Regions from separate parts of the Homo sapiens genome. Here region 2 is linked to region 1. The links are contacts of gene promoters, found by promoter capture Hi-C in human tissues and cell types (Jung and others, 2019). All regions are on one chromosome and are shown on one strand. Each heading gives the region's core, a stretch centred on a gene start or on the middle of the fragment in contact. The rest is flanking DNA. Distances are from core to core; before and after follow the strand shown. Region 1 holds the start of SH2B3 (SH2B adaptor protein 3). Region 2 holds the start of MAPKAPK5 (MAPK activated protein kinase 5).

Evidence for each region. Contacts are between HindIII fragments. The study calls those that stand out against the background at their distance.
Region 2: a contact is called between the fragment with the promoter of MAPKAPK5 here and the fragment with the promoter of SH2B3 in region 1, in 1 of the 25 tissues and cell types used here (liver).

Annotation. Positions count from the first base shown.
Region 1 is chr12:111,402,825-111,407,179 of GRCh38, reverse strand. It overlaps SH2B3 (SH2B adaptor protein 3), which reads right to left and starts at 1,257. Exons shown (of 8, transcript NM_005475.3): 1 at 903-1,257. LINC02356 (long intergenic non-protein coding RNA 2356) reads right to left here. Exons shown (of 4, transcript NR_187522.1): 4 at 3,870-4,042. RefSeq lists silencers at 919-1,498, 1,619-1,778 and an enhancer at 3,801-4,050. The HindIII fragment of the contact is 38,873 bases long and covers 1-4,355 here.
Region 2 is chr12:111,840,710-111,844,898 of GRCh38, reverse strand. MAPKAPK5 (MAPK activated protein kinase 5) reads right to left here and starts at 2,671. Exons shown (of 14, transcript NM_003668.4): 1 at 2,130-2,671. The coding sequence starts at 2,165. It overlaps MAPKAPK5-AS1 (MAPKAPK5 antisense RNA 1), which reads left to right and starts at 1,894. Exons shown (of 2, transcript NR_015404.2): 1 at 1,894-3,572. RefSeq lists silencers at 326-494, 2,176-2,525, 2,606-2,785 and enhancers at 1,986-2,085, 2,816-3,095. The HindIII fragment of the contact is 25,902 bases long and covers 1-4,189 here.

The DNA.
Region 1 (4,355 bases), core at 8-2,507:
AATGGGGAAGAGAAACAGGAGAATGAGGAAACTAAAGAAAAAAAGAAGCGGGACAGGCAGGCAGACCCTCCTCTCCAGTTCCTCAAATGCAGTCCCCCTCCCTCAAAACAAAGCTCCCCTGGCCGGAGGGAGGGAAGGGAGGGAAGGGGATTTCTGCACCAGGCATCAGAGACCTCTGAAATACCATCCCTACCGTGCGGATCTAGAAGACCAACACCCACTCCAGACGTTTTTTGGTCGGGGGATTCCCAGGGAACCCCAGGCAAGAGGTGTGAGAGGATCAATACCAGAAACCTGTCTCTGGGACGCCTAGCCCTGGTGAACCGCCCAATTCAGCAGCATGCGGGGGCCTGGCCCGGTCGACCTCGGCAGTGCAGGAACTGGGGAGAGGGGCTTCCTGAATCAGGGCGCTACCCTCTTAGCCACATGGCCCGGAATGGGGAGTGGGGAGGGGCCGGCGCATCCTCCCCCGCTGCCCCCACACCCAAGGGCTCATCTGTGCTCACAGCCTCAGTTTGACTACTTTCACTTTCAGGGTAGCAATGGGTGACCCCTGACCGCTCCTCCCCAGGCACAAGTTGAGGGGAGGGCCGCCCCCAACCGGCGAGGCTACCGTAGGGTGGGCTGGGGGCGTCAGCGATGCCCTCTCCCCCATCCCACGGCCTCAGTTACCCCAACGCTCTCCCTAACACGTGTGTGGGTGGGGGTAGTGGCTGAGTGGGGGGTCGTAGGCGCTGGGAGCCGTCACCCCGGAACGCCTCCATCCGAGTTGGCTGCAGGGCAGTATTTTGGGCTGGGGGTGACGCGCAGAGCCCGGGCAGAACTGGACACGGGGCCTCCTCTTTCCCCACAAAAGCCCTCCCGGCCCCGGAGGAGGGGAGCGCGGGCAAACGCGGGCTCACCTGAGAGACAGGAGCTCTGGGCCCGGCCGGCCCATGGCGTCGCGCGCCCCCGGGCCCTCGAAATCCCGAGGGGGCGGGCGGGCCCCCGCCCTGGGCGCGTCCTCTCCCGCCCGCCGGCTCCTCGCTCGCGGCTCGCTCGAGCGGGGCTCAGGCAGGAAACCCGGGCTCGGAAAATGGCCAGCGCCTCATCATTTCCGCCGCCAGCGCTTGACAGTTGCGGGAGGATGCGCCCCCGGGCCGCCGCCGCCGGGGAAACTTTGCAGCGGCCGCCGTCGCCACCGCGGGCCGCGACAGTCCGGGCGGGCAGCCGGGCGGAGGCGGTGGCCCGGGCCCATGCCGCCCCGCGCCGTTATGTAAAGAGGAACCGGCCGTGCGAGCGGAGCCCGGCGGGGGAGGCCGGCCGCGACAGGGGCGGGGCAGGGGCGGGGCCACCAGGAGCCACGCCTCAGGCCGCGCGCGAGTCGGAGATTCGGCTGGAGGGGCGGGCCATGAGGGCGGAGCCCGGACTGGCCCCGCCTACCAATCCCGCTAGTCCGCGGCTGCCAGGGTCGGAGGGCTCTCCTGGCGCGGGTCCGGAAAAAGGCGAGGCCTTGCGAAGCCACGCCCACCACGTGCCCACCCGATTTCGCGTCCCACAGTCTGAAGATAGAAGTGAGGATCGGAGGGGCGGGGCGACTTTAGCCCCACCCACTCAACGCCGGCAGGTCACCAGGTGCCTCAGCGCCTGGAGGCGGGGCCAGATGAAGGGGCGGGGCCTAGGGCGGGCAGGGTCGAGGGGCCTGGCCTCCAGGGGGCGCGCCCTTGCTGACTCCCTCCTGCAGGGCCTTATCAGTGCCCGCAGGGCTGGGCGGTGCAATAGCGACCACGGCTTTCATCATCGCCCCAGGGAGGGAGCCCAGCCCTGCCCGACCCTGACTATCTGCGATCATGCTGACCCGACCCGCCACGGCCCCAGGCCCCCGATTTGGGTTCTGGCCCCAGCCCTCAGCTTTGCCTTTGCTACAGCCGGTGCCCGTATAGCCCAGCCTCGCTCCGGCCGCCCGTCCTGTCCCCCAATTCTAGGAGGGGTGCATCTTTCTCCAGGAAGCCCTCTCCGACCGCTGGCTTCCGTGGCCTCTGCGCCCACCCCCCTGCCCGCCCCCGGGCTACTTACATTTTCTCCACGGCCTCATGGGGAGCTGAGACGGACAGTGGGGTTCCCCCTAGTCCGGAGTGGGACATGCTCTCAGCCAGCCTCTCCCCCAACATGTGGGAGGGCGGGGAGGGAGGAATGTACTCTTCTCCCCCTCCCCCAACAGGAAACAAGTCGCCCACGCCCCCAGCTTGGAGGGGCCACCTCGAGTCTTCCCAGGCAGCAAGTGTCTCCATTCCACTGCCTCCCCCTCTTCCTACCCGGGCAAATGACTTGACTTCTCCGTACCTCTCCACTTCCTTGCCTATGAAATGGAAATAATGTGTACCCACTCTCCTGGCAGTGAGAATTAAGTGAGTTAATGCATTAAAGCAGTTAGCTCGAGGCTTGGCTCCAGGAAGCTCTCTGTGTTAAACAAATCGGCCCCAGTCCTGACCTTAGAACTACAGGAAGGGGTTCCCCAGAAGGTGGGGATTTCCAGACTCCGAGTAGATGGGGGAAGGGAGCGGTCTGCTACAGGATTCCTGGTGTCCAATGACCTTGAAGAAAAAGGCCACAAAAATCTGCTTTCCGCACATTTCCAGGCACTGTTCTAGGCGCTGGGAACACAGCAGTGAACAACACAGATATCCCTGCCTGCGTGGAGCTGATATTCTAGTGGGGGGACATAAGGCACGAATAAGCAAGTGGGATCAGCTATGACAATGACAAAACAGTTACGGGATGGAGAGCTGGAAGGGGATGTCTTAGATCCAGGGCTCAGGAAGGACACCTCTGCGGAACTAACATGTGAGCTTAGAACCCTCCATGACAAGAAGGATCCAGGTGCTATAACGTCTGAGGGAAGAGCATTCCAGGCCAAAGGAACAGCATGTGCAAAGGTGCTGAGGTGGGAATACATGTGGTGCTTTGGAATAAAGTCATAAAGGCAGTGGTGACACCTATACTGGTAAGAGATGATGTTTCAAAGGTGGGCCCATCACATGGTGTCTTGAAGGTCTTGGTGGGGACTTTGGGAATTATTTTGAAGGCAGTAGGGTGCCATGGAGGGTTGTGAGGAGAAGGACCTGTGGAGTGTGGGATTCAAGCTGTTCACACGGCATCTGAGGATGTGGGAAGAGGGGTGGGGTGGGGGAATGTCAATGAAGTCTAAACGAGGCCGGGTGTAGTGGCTCACACCTGCAATCTCAGCACTTTGGGAGGCTGAGGCCAGCGGATCACCTGAGGTCAGGAGTTTGAGACCAGCCTGGTCAACAGGGTGAAACCCTGTCTCTACTAAAAATACAAAAATTAGCCAGGCATGGTTGCACGCACCTGTAGTCCCAGCTACTGGGGAGGCAGAGGCAGAAGAATCGCTTGAACCTGGGAGGTGGACACTGCAGTGAGCCAAGATTGCATCACTGCACTCGAGCCTGGGAGACAGAGGTAGGCTCTGTCTCTAAAAAAAAAAAAAAAAAAAGTCTGAATGGATCATCCCATATTATTTGATCACTTTCTTATACCTGGGGACACTGCGGCCAAGAGAGAACAGTTACTTGTCTGTAGCCATGCAGCTGCCAGGCAGCACCCACAGAGCAGCCCGGTACCCAGCCAATGCCAAATGGCTGCTGAAATCTGCCAGCCACAAGCACTTTCCCTCTCACTGCCCAGACAGCAGCTCTGCTGACTTAAATTGGGACTTGTGGTTCTTCCCCTTTTTAATCACGGTTCAAACCTTCTCGCCTGCCAGATTTCTCGGAGGCCCAAACTGGTTTCCTTCCTCGCTTAGTCGCTTCTTGCCCACATCCCCGCCAGAGTCCAGTTTTTTGTTTTGGCGCTCGCTGAGACCCCAAGACTTCTCACTTTTTGTGTTTATTTTCCCTTGGAAAGGCAAAGGGATTCCAACAAATAACCTTCCCATCACCGTGCCCAGATTTGAGAGTGCCGCTGCCACGAACACAGCGAGGTCGTCGTCGCCACTGGGAGGCCGGCCAGCCACGGCTCTTCCCACTCGGCAGGTCACTGGGACCTAAGGAGAGAAAGGGTTATTCAAATTCCCATGACTGATCCGTAGCTCCCGGAAACAAGCCAGGCCGTCTTAGGGGAGCAGGTCCAACCGCCCTTCCTTCTTGCTGTGAAAAACACCAACACCTCCTGCTGGCCAAGTTCCAGAAAGCCGGAGACTCACAGGATTAATAACAATTACAGGCCACGCGCGGTGGCTCATGCCTGTAATCCCAGCACTTTGGGAGGCCGAGGCAGGCGGATCACCCAAGGTCGGGAGTTCGAGACCAGCCTGACCAACATGGAGAAACCCCGTCTCTACTAAAAATACAAAATTA
Region 2 (4,189 bases), core at 1,422-3,921, 440 kb before region 1:
CCAGCCACCTTGCTCTTCCTACATCACACTACACCTGCTTCTACCTCAAGGTCTGTCCTTGCTATTCCCACTGCCTGTTATACTCTTCCCTGAGACAGTGGTGGCTTGCTCTCGCATTTCCATCAGAACTCTACAGTGTCACCTCCTCGGACTACCCTATTTAACACAGTACTCCTCACCCTTTCCACACTTAATTAAAACCACCTAGCAGTAACCCCACCCTCTAGAATATAAGCTACATGACAGTAGGGACATCTAGGAGTCTGGCTTGTACCATTTGTGTCTAGGACACCATCTGGCACACAGGAGACAATGTTTAAAAACTGGCCACATACGCTTTGATTCACAACCCAATTAAATAACTTCAGGCGGCATATCATGCCTCTGTGCCAATAAAACCCAAACCAAGGCTGGGCGCGGTGGCTCACACCTGTTATCTCAGAACTTTGGGAGGCCGAGGCGGGCAAATCATGACGTCAGGAGATGGAGACCATCCTGGCTAACACAGTGAAACCCCACCTCTACTAAAAATACAAAAAAATTAGCTGGGTGTGGTGGCACGTGCCTGTAGTCCCAGCTACTGGGGAGGCTGAGGCAGGAGAATCACTTGAACCTGGGAGGTGGAGGTTGCAGTGAGCCAAGAGCATCCCACTGCACTCCAGCCTGGATGACAAAGCCAGACTCCGACTCAAAAAAAAAAACAAAACCCAAAACAAAAGAAGGATATGTCAAGGCAGTCTTTTAGAATCTTTATGATTTAAAACCTCGTCTTCCTTGGGCCAGGCACGGTGGCTCACGCCTGTAATCCCACCATTTTGGGAGGCCAAGGCGGGCAGATCACGAGGTCAGGAGATCGAGCCCATCCTGGCTATTACGGTGAAACCCCGTCTCTACTAAAAATACAAACAAAAGAAAAAATTAGCAGGGCGTGGTGGGTGGGCGCCTGTAATCCCAGCTACTCGGGAGGCTGAGGCAGGAGAATGGCGTGAACCCAGGAGGCGGAACTTGCAGTGAGCCAAGATCGGGCCACTGCACTCCAGCCTGGGCGACAGAGTGAGACTCCGTCTCAAAAACAAACAAACAGACAAAAAACCTGGTCTTCCTTAATGTATATGTTATATGTTGATGCCTCCTTTAAAGGGTTAAGTTTCTTTGGAATGACTTGATGATTTTGAGAAACTATATACACCACCTAAAGAATTGGTAGAAATGTAAATTCTTAATCATTACTAGTAACTGTCTTGAAGGGGAAAATAACCCCAAGCTGCCAATAGATGCCTGTCCTTCAAGATAAAATGAAATTATTCAATGCACTGGGCTGACTTAACACTACAAATAAGTAAATAATACATCAAACTTTAAGCGTCAATGTTTAATTTTCATAAGACTAATTTCTTAGCTACAGCTGTCAAGACAGATAACTGGCCCTGAGTGGGCAAAATGTGCCTTTAAAAAAAAAAAAAGTTAAAAACAGGTTTTAGAAAACTTATTTTATTTGTGTAATTTTCGAACACACATTTGCTTTTCTTTTGGTTTAAGTGCAGTTAAGTCACAGGAACTGTTAACTTTTCCTAAGTAAACTCAATGCTTCCTAGGAGAAAGAAGAGGAAAAAGAAAAAGGGGAGAATACACGGAAAAGTGAGGACAACCTATTCCCCAAAGGACAGGTTTTGTACGGCGAACCACCTTTTTCCAACTGCAGATTTCCAGAAGGCTGATTTCAAACAAATCGGGAGGGATGGATAAATTCCAACTCTCCAAGTTCTGTAGACCATCCGGAAGCAAATGCTGGCGGCCTTGGGGAGTGATCGAAACGTGTAGTAGTAGTAGTAGGGCTCTCTTCGTCCCATTCATTGACACTTAATAGTGTCTCCAGGCCACTCACCTCTGTTCCAGCTGAGCACAAATCACACTCACCAGGGAAGCTGGCGGGAGTCGGACACACACCTACACCCACACCCATAACCCTTGGCCCCAGGGCTGTAAAGCGCGATCCACGGAATCCGGGGGAGGCCGAAACCCGGTAGTCGATGGAACCTCTCACTGCAAAATCTCCCTGCTTTTTGAGGCTAGAGCCGAGAAGAACGCCACAGGACAACGCGGGGGAAGAGGGGGCACCTCCCCCTTACCTTGATGGCTTTGTCCATGTCGCTCTCCTCCGACATACTCAGTGGGGCCCCCACAGCCGGGAGAGGCGGAGGCTGCTCAGCAGCCCTGTCCCCGCGCGGCCGAGGGAGCAAAGGGCTCGGCACTCGGGCCCCTGGGCCTCGTGGCGACGGGCAGCAGCCGCCCCTCGGGACCGGTGGGGATGAGGACCCCGGCGCCGGCTCTGCTTCGGCGGGCGGCTCTAGGCTGGCGGCAGCAGCAGCGGCGGAGGCGGCGGCCCCTGGGGACAGGTCTTTGTGCTGGGCCCCACGCGGCCGCCTCCTAGCCTCATCCCCAGCTGGGGAGGCAGGCTCCTGGGGTAGGGCGAGGCGGGGAGGGCCTCGACCCGGGGCGCCGTGCAAGGGCCTCGCGGGGCCGCCGCTTAGACCTGGGCTCGCCAGGTCCTAAAGAAGAGCCTGCGCCTCCGCCTCCGCCGCCTGCACCGCCGCGAAGCCGAAGCCGAAGCCGAAGCAGAGCTCGGCGCCGCTGCTCCCGCCGCCGCCTCAGCGCCACACATCGCCGGGACACCCGCGCCGGGCAGCCCCGCCGGCCGCCCTCACGCACGCGCTGTGCCCCGCGGGAGCTCCAGGCCGCCCCTCCTGCCGCCCAGCTTCGTGACTCCACGGCCCCACGCGCCCCTTGCTGCCTTCCGCTGGGGTTTCCGAGCCGCCCCCGAACCGCGCACCCGACTTGCAGGCGTCCGCCTGGGCCTCCCTAAGACACGCCGCATACAGGACAGGCCCCTGGGCCTTCCGCGGCGATGGCGCTGCGCTAATGACGTCATAGGCCCGGACTCGCGTGAGTGCGCGTGCGTTGGGGCCTCAGCCTTTATCTCCACTCTGCGGAGATTCACGCCTGGAAAACGCTCTTCTGAGAGGATCTGTGGAGGTCAACCCAGGAGAGAGAAGACAGGACTGAAGCACTGAAAGGGTCCTGCCGTTAAGGGCGCAGGATTGTATAGAATATATAATAGCAGTAGCAGCTCTGTTTACGGAGCATTAACCTTACGTGGAGTTATTTCCTGCATTTCCTCCTTTCGTCTTTACAAGGTAGCCGTTTGGCGTCGTGAGGTATGGATGTTCCCATCCCTAATTTGCAAAATAGGTAACTGAGGCTCAGGAGAGCTAGACTAGTTTGTGCACAGCCGAGAAGTGGTCAAGCTAGAATGGGACCCCAGGTTTGTGCTCCCTACTCTCCACCGATAACCTATCAAAGGGCTTTGCAAGAGCTTTTGACTAATCGTCTGTCAATGGTTCTTCATTCACGTATTAATTGCACATCAGTATGTGCCAAATCTACTAGACATTGGAGAAACAGTAGGAACAACACATGGTACCGGCACATGGATCTTTCAGGAAAACGAAGTAGGTAATAAACAGGAAAAAGCCCGAGTCTGATGCTAAGAAGAACATAAACAGGATGCTGAGGTAAGAGAATAACTGGATGTGGGGACTTCTTCGTATTAGATGATTAAGGAAGGAATCTCAGGAGGTAACATTTAAGCTGAGACCCCTGAGGAATGAGAAAGGGCTGGCTATTGGAAATCCAAGGAAAGATTTCTGGGCAGATGGGTAGAAATTTTAAGGTGGAAATAAGCTAAATATGTTCAAGAATCAGCAAGAAGGTCATTGTAGCTGGAGTAGATCGAGTAGGAGGAGACTGATAAAGGGTGAGGTTGGAGGCTGGGCGCGGTGGGTCACGCCTGTAATCCCAGCACTTCGGGAGGCCAAGGCGGGCGGATCACTTGAAGTCAGGAGTTCGAGACCGGCCTGGCCAACATGGCGAAACCCCGTCTCTATTTCAAAAAAAGAAAAAAAAAAGTATAAAAAGGATGAGGTTGGAGATGTGGGCAGGGGCTGCATCATATGTGGCCTTTGGGGGTCATAATCAGGACTTTGGATTTTATTCTAAGCTATTGTAAGGTTTTAAAGTAAAGAGTGATGTGAACAAATTTGTTTTAAAAGATCACTCTGCTTTGTAGAGAATAGAATATAGGAAAGCAAGAATGGAAACAGAGCTATTAGGAGGCTATTGGAGAATAATG